Regions from separate parts of the Homo sapiens genome. Here region 1 is linked to region 2. Evidence: promoter capture Hi-C in 16 types of primary human blood cells and fetal thymus (Javierre and others, 2016). All regions are on one chromosome and are shown on one strand. Each heading gives the region's core, a stretch centred on a gene start or on the middle of the fragment in contact. The rest is flanking DNA. Distances are from core to core; before and after follow the strand shown. Region 1 holds the start of LOC102723730 (a long non-coding RNA gene). Region 2 holds the start of SH3YL1 (SH3 and SYLF domain containing 1).

Region 1 (3,362 bases), core at 805-3,304, 1.3 Mb after region 2:
GTAGACCAGCAGAGGCTGACTGAGCTGGACCCGTGGGCTGGGGGACTTTGACCTGGTTCTGTTGAGTCAACTGACCTGCCTGAGGGTACTGCTACTGCTGTCACCCAGAGTGCAATCAATCACAGGCCCTGTGCCCGCATTTCACAGCTAAGGAATGGCAGATCCTGTGCGGGGAGGGAAGGAAGGAAGGGAGAAATGGAGGGAGGGAGGCAGGGAGGAAAGTGTACAGGGAGAGACAGAGCGCAGGGCTGCTGGATGGAGAGACCTGGACCGGGCCAGGCTTGGCCGTGTGAGGAGCGCCTGTCCTTCTAGGGACCTTGGAGATCAGGGAGCAGGCTGCTGACAAACGACTTATTTCTCCTCCCTCTGAACTCCCAAATTCCCAGAAATCTGCCTCGAAAGTGGGGAGAGCAGAGAGGCTGTGAGGTTGGACCGAGGGGGCCCACGGCCTCACCCTCCTTCCCACGTGGGCCACCCCTGGACGCTTCGTTCGCAAGCCTGATATTGTCCTAAGATGTGGTTTGATTTTTAAGGGCGGAGAGATGGGCTCAGCTGCTGGTGGAATCCAGCCCCTCCGTCTTTGCGGGATGTGGGGTCTCTGCCTCCTGCAGTGACAGCACCGGCATGACCCAGCCTGGCTTCCCGCTCCCAAGCGCGGGCACCTGCGGCCGAAGACGCGGCTCCGCAGCGCCACCTAGTGGCCGCCCAGCCTCTCCCCAAAGCGGAGCCTTAGGACGAAGCTCCCTTTCCCCGAGGTCCCTGCAGGTTTCTGTGGAGCCTGGGAGTCTGAATTACTGTCTCCCGGGTGATTCCTAACCCTGGAAACTCGCTGCTGCTCCCTGGGGCTGGTGGTCGTGCCAGTTGCTGCGTCAGAGCAGTTGGGCGCCCACAGGCTGAGGACGCCGGGGCCAGGGTGAGGGTGAGGCTCCACCTCAGGGCTCCAGAGACCGAGTTTTGCACTTGACACTTCCTTAACCTTCGAAAGCCTGATTCCTTCTTATCGCCCTGAGGGCCTGAGGTCCCCTATCTGCATGATGGAGGGGTTGGATACCATGGTCTTGAAGACCTTCCATTCCTAGGGTGACAAGATTCTAACCACATTGCACATGGAACACTTCTCGGTGCAATGACCCCAAACAACATCCCAGCCTGTGCAGTTCCCACTCCCAGAGATCCGAAAGTCGGTGGGTGACGACCCACGTGTGAAAGGGGCTCTAGAGAGCTGCCTACAGTCTCATGTCCCCCCACCCACCGCCCTCCGTGTGCTCAGCACCTGAACGTCTTCACAGAGACAGGGCAGAGTCTGTTTAAAAGGAAGCTCCGACAGTCTCCCTACGAAGAGATGGCCGCCACCTCAGGCACGTGGGATATTTCTGGGGATGGAATTGTCGCAATAATGAGGAAATCCCCTGTGGTTTAATGGGCAGAGTCCCAAAGGTGCTTGACATCCTGACCAGCACAAGGCAGCCCACCTCCTGCAGAAACTGTGAAAAAAAGGCAAGAAAAGTATACCCATAACTAATTTGAGTGGTTGTAATGTACACTGAAACAAAAAAGTCTTTTCAATTTTTTTTTCTTTTTGAGATGGAGTCTCACTCTGTCGCCCAGACTGGAGTACAGTGGCACGATCTCGGCTCACTGCAACCTCTGCCTCCCAGGTTCAAGCTATTCTCCTGCCTCAGCCTCCCTAGTAGCTGGGATTACAGGTGTCTGTCACCATACCAGCTAATTTTTGTATTTTTAGTAAGATGAGGTTTCACCATGTTGGCCAAGCTGGTCTCTAACTCCTGGCCTCAGGTGATCTGCCCACCTCGGCCTCCCAATGTGCTGGGATTACAGGTGTGAGCCACTGCACCTGACCCTTTTCCCGATTTTAATTGCACTAAACTTCCATAGAATGCTGACAGCGCATAAACATGATAATGTGTCTTTGCAATTTTCAAGCTTAAATACTTAGAATCCAAAAATATGATGAAGTGTGGAGTTTATTTGAACACGAAGTTGGAGGATAGTCACATAGGAAACACAGACTCTCAAAATGGAAAGTTAAAGTCTCATTTACATAGTCAGAGGCAGAGGTTTAACAGGTTGCAGCATTTTCCAACAAGATCAAGACATAGGTTATAGCGATTTGACTTGATTGGTCACAGCTCGCTACACTAAGGAAGCTTGTTTTAACATCCCATAAGGAAGGGTAATGGTCTTGAGGCGGTCTCACCTCTGGTACCATTCAGTCTTTCCTAATCATTACAGGACAAGAATGAGGAAGAGATTTGACCCAGAATAAAGAAGCAGAAGGTGCAGCTTCACACCATGCGACGCAGGCCCCACAGCCACGTTCCTCTCAAGGCTCAAAATCAGGTACGGTTCCAACAGCTTTCAGTTTGGATTAATTTCACATCTCCCCTTTTCAACATCAACATGATCCTTTTGAAGAAAGCTTAGTAGCTGAATGCAGATGGTTTGGGAATCTCTGTATGTTTAGGGGCTTAGCCCCAGATACTTAGGAAGGTTCACTCCTAGGACGTTGTCTCCCATGTCTAGGGCCATGTGCCAAGCTGTACAGAACTGACGGGGCATAGGCCGAACCTGGAGCCACATGAAGGAAGTGACGTGGTGACCTTGGTCAGGCTACACAGCTGCATTGTCCGTTAATGGGATTCTGTGAGTGACGATTATTTTAGTATCTTCAGTTGTGAACTGACTCCATTGCACACCAATGCCAGAGCAGGGAAGACAAAACAGGCCAGAACCCAACCAACGATTGATTAACAGCTGCTTCTGCCAAGTTCCCCAAGACCTAAACCAGCTGCTTAACCAACTGTGTGGAGAGGTTTTGGATCTGAAAGTTTTGTTATTGGGTTTTCATATCGGTAATTAATTTAGGGACATTATCTGATTCATCTGGGTTAGGGACATGACGTTCAGTCTTTGTGATGGTGCAGGTTCCCTCTGGGGCTGCAGTGAGTCTGTCTAAGGCTATACGAGCCTGTAATGCAGCCTTTCTCATAAAAGCATCTTCATTGTTTATTAACATGACACGTGGCTATCATTCAGGGCCTTTTTCAGTTAGGAGGTACACTGTCCTTCCCTTCTGGGCCTTACCTCGTCCTCCTAGAGGACCTTTTATAATTCTGGTCACTTGAGAAGGAAGTTTACATTTGCTTATTGAATTGGCCTTCAGAATCTGGCCAGTTTCAAACATTACAAATTTTGCTCAATCCACATAGCTTCAATTTCTCTTTTCAAAGAGAAACTGTTTTCTTCCTGACCAAAATTTCAAATGGGACAAAAGGTTCTAGAAACTCTAATGAATAATTCAAAACAGAACCTTAACTTCAAAAAAAAATCAAAGTCTTGAA
Region 2 (3,816 bases), core at 1,193-3,692:
CAGCTTAAGATCTGGAAATAATTTTAGGTATTGATCGCAGTTCTATAAACTCAATGCTAGAGTCACTGGGGACAAACAGGGACATGAGAATCCTACTCGGAGTAAATTGCCACCTGAGGTGACAAAGCTGACTACGGTTTCCAATCTAGTTGTACACGGAGGGTCAGGAATGAAAGCAAGAAGACCCAAGGGCCCCTCTCCACCACTTTCCTTACCAGAGTTCAGATTCCCAAACTTTTGCTTCCCTTATATTATTTTCTTCAATGGACTCTAATTATGAAAGGAATACTTACAGGAAAGCAAGCTTACTAAATTTGGTTTTCCAAGTTCTTACTGATTACATATTAATCAAATTATTAAACCTTATACTTTATGTGAAATGGAGGTTAACTCATTAAACTGATAAAATTCCATCTAAGATCAAAGGAACTTGAATGCTGCTAAAGGTATATTTAGAATAAACTAAAGAAATCTTAGCCAAAAGAAAGTGTATGTATCTAATCTTTAGAGAGGCTTTCAAATGTTGCTTTAAGCTACTTTTATTAACAAAACTGCATTTTGAACTCCACTGCTTGACAACTATGGCCTTTGTTTCTTAAGTCAATTCTTACCTTTCTGGGGCCTTGGTTTAACTACTTCCTTTGTTTTAAGGACACAAAGCTTGTCAGTTCTCAAAATAAAAACCTGTCTCTCTGGTCAGATCATTAACTCCCTAGTCAAACTTTCAGACTACCGTCTGAACATCAAGTGCTAGCCTGAGCTTGTTTCCAGTCCCCCAACCCCAGGCTGTGGCTGGGGAAGGAAGAGGACAGCGAAAGCTTTCTCTGCTCCCTCGGGAGACAGGAAAGCCCTTTATTTATTCCTGCCCTTCCTCTTCTCCAACTGAAGAGTGTGATCTTGGTACAGAGCAGTTCCACACATGCCACACTGGTCTGATCTTTTAGAGTAAAAAATGGGATCTTCTCAGAGAAAATTTTTTTAAAAACTTCATGTGCTTAGGTCTCAGAGCAGAGAATTTTGTCTTATCATGACGCCACTCACTGGCAAACAAGCTGGCGTGCACAGGGACTTGTGAGGCTCTCAGCAGAGTCAGGGTAGCAGTTATTTCCCTTTGACTGCCTCAACTTCCTATGTTTGTGTTGACATGCCAGATCCTTATTTCTGCGGAATGAGAAATCTCTTGAGAATAAAGTTTTCCTAAACAGAACAAAAGTATCAAATCACTTTTGATGAGCAAACATTATTTTAAACTTTTTTTTAACTTACAAAAGATGAGGGGTAACATTTACTAGTTTTACAGAAATTTTCTTTAAACAGAACATTAGTGAACCAAATAACCAATTCTCCTCAAACATGATAGACAGGATGGAGGTTATCACTTTGATCATTTTAACCTCCAACATAGTAATTTGTAAACATCAGTCGCTGCACAAGTATTTTAATAACAGGCCAGCCCACGGGAGTAAACAGCACCTTAGCCTCGAGACCTGTTCTCTCAACTGTGTGTACAGATTTTCTAAGTCGTTATGAATTCAGATATTCCCTACATCTCAATAAAAACACCTAGGAGAACAAGAAATCAGGACATGCATCTCCTGTAAGCAGAAGAGAAACCGAGCACCTGCTCTCTTGCGGGGGGGCAGCTTCGTGTCACTTTCCAACTCAGCCTCCACAGGAGCATGGGCATATTGGTTCAAATGAAGTGTAAAGGACACATCTCTGTCCACAGTGTAAATCCTATTTCCTTAAGGTGGTCAACCGATTGAGACCAGTTCCACACTTCCTTAAAGAAGGAAAAACTCAGCAGCCAGCGCCAAGGCCCAGCGATCAGAGAGGACCCGTGCTCGCCGCGACCCCGCGCTCGCCCTGTGGCCCCGCGACCCCGGCGCCAGGTGTTGGGGGGACCGGCCCTTCCCTTCCGGGTGTGAGGGGCTGGCCCTTCTCTTCCAGGTTGGGGGGCTGGCAAACTCGAACCTCGCCGGCGCCCTAGCCAAGGCCTCCTCCCCGCGCCTGCCGCGGGTTCCACGCACATTCCAAGCGCGCGCATTCGACCCAAACTTCAGAGACGCTTCTGTGGAACGGAAGGATGGTCGCTGACACCTCGCCGTTCAAATATCAGGAAGTTAAAAATAACACGACCATCGTCATCATTCCAAACTTCGGAATAGCTTTTCTAAAAATGGAAAAGACGGTGGCTAAACTTCAATCAAAATCGCTGTGGTCAAGAAAGTCCTGGAAGCTGCTCTATCTTAACTTTGGGCGGTTTGCGGTTAACAGACGCGCGACCTAGAAACCCCAGAGGCATCGCCGGTTTTCCCGTCCTCCTCCTCCCACCACCGCCCAGCTCTTGAGAGGGGAGGGTGCTGCCGGACAGGTGGGTCCCCGGGTACTCACTGCTGCCCGCCCGGCCGCGGCGCCCCGTCCCGAGGCTGCCCAGGAAGAGGAAGGCGCGCTGCCCCGCCCCGCGGACAAGGAGGCCCCAGCGAGGGCGTACCTGCGGCAGGTGACGAAGGAGGCGGCGCAAAACACCCGCCGTGTACGTTTCGCGGGACAAAAACCACGCGCCCGCCGGGCCGCGCTCAGGCCTTCGCCCTCAGGGACTTCGGAACCGCCCCGTCCTCAAGATCGAAAAGCCCAGAGCCCCGCGGCGGCTCCAAGCACGGTGTTGGGGGTGGGGGTCTCAGGGAGCGCCCAGGCCCAAGGCCGCCCTGGTCCGGCGTGGACCCCGCGGGGCTCAAGGCAGGTTCCCCGCGTGACCCGCCCAGCCCCTCTATGCGAACTCGAACGACAGGCACCACAGCCCGCCACGTGCGCGAGACTCGCGCTGTGCCCCAACCCAGGTGGGCGGCCCGCGGAGCCGCGAGGCCTGAGCCCGCCCTGCAGGTGACCCGCGGCCCTTCCTCCTCCAGGTACCCCTCTCCTGCGGCCCCGTCCCCTATAGGTAACCTTTACCTCCCGCGGCTCCTTCCCCTCCAAGCGACCCGCAGCCCCGCCCCCTCCAGGTGACTCCCCCCCGCCAACCCCCGCCACCACACACACACACCCCCTCGCCTTCCGCGGCCCTACTCCCTCCAGGTGACCCCACCCCCGCAGCTCCTCCTCCTCCGGACAACCTGCAGCCCCGCCCCTGCAGGTGAACGGCGGCCCAGTCCCTGCAGGTGACCCGCGGACCCTCCCCGCCCGTCCTACTACCGTCATAGGACCGCCTCCGCAGGCGCACTGGAGCCGATTGCGCAGGCGTGGCTCTCACACGCGCTGCCCTGTTGGCGTTGGTGCGGGACTGCGCAGGCGCGCGGGGCAAGAGGGTGGCAGTGCGCCTGCGCCGCGTCGGCGTGCGGAACGCCGCGGTGTCTCGGCGCCTCTGCGCGCGGGAAGATGGCGGAACAGGCTACCAAGTCCGTGCTGTTTGTGTGTCTGGGTAAGAGGGCGCCGACTTACTCATGTTCTGACGTCCTCTGGAGAGTTGGATCGGGCTTGTGCGCTGTAGGTTGTGCCGCCGGCCTAGGAACCATGAGGGGGAGGAGGCCAGGGACTGGGAGGCCTAGGGTGTTCTAGGAGTGTGCCGCAGCGCCCCTGTTCCCCATCCGCCCCGTGCACCCGCCCAGCCTGCCCGCTAAACCTGGGTCCCCTCGCGCCTGCCATATATCCGGGGCTCTTGGCATCTGCAGCCACAGCCCCTACAAGCCAAGGTACTTTCTTTGCGACTACTAGAATCCCTCTCGTTCCCCTCCAATGGGCCCAGGTAGGCCTGGAGGTTGTCGGACTGATGTGGTCTCTTAGGGGCCTCCTGAGTCCTATGACAACATTGTTTTGTTT

Evidence for each region. The method cuts DNA at HindIII sites, captures the fragments that hold promoters and counts their contacts. A CHiCAGO score of 5 or more calls a contact.
Region 1: a contact is called between a fragment that was not itself captured here and the fragment with the promoter of SH3YL1 in region 2, in 1 of 17 cell types (total B cells). The highest score is 6.4, in total B cells.

Annotation. Positions count from the first base shown.
Region 1 is chr2:1,550,194-1,553,555 of GRCh38, forward strand. All of the region lies in intron 4 of LALTOP (lung cancer associated lncRNA targeting TOP2A), which reads right to left. LOC102723730 (a long non-coding RNA gene) reads left to right here and starts at 1,737. Exons shown (of 3, transcript NR_168373.1): 1 at 1,737-2,361; 2 at 2,545-2,664. RefSeq lists a silencer at 617-726. The HindIII fragment of the contact is 224 bases long and covers 1,943-2,166 here.
Region 2 is chr2:261,590-265,405 of GRCh38, forward strand. SH3YL1 (SH3 and SYLF domain containing 1) reads right to left here and starts at 2,443. Exons shown (of 10, transcript NM_015677.4): 1 at 2,395-2,443. The coding sequence starts at 2,395. It overlaps ACP1 (acid phosphatase 1), which reads left to right and starts at 3,358. Exons shown (of 6, transcript NM_004300.4): 1 at 3,358-3,418. The coding sequence starts at 3,376. RefSeq lists silencers at 2,339-2,918, 2,989-3,068 and an enhancer at 3,419-3,468. The HindIII fragment of the contact is 12,050 bases long and covers 817-3,816 here.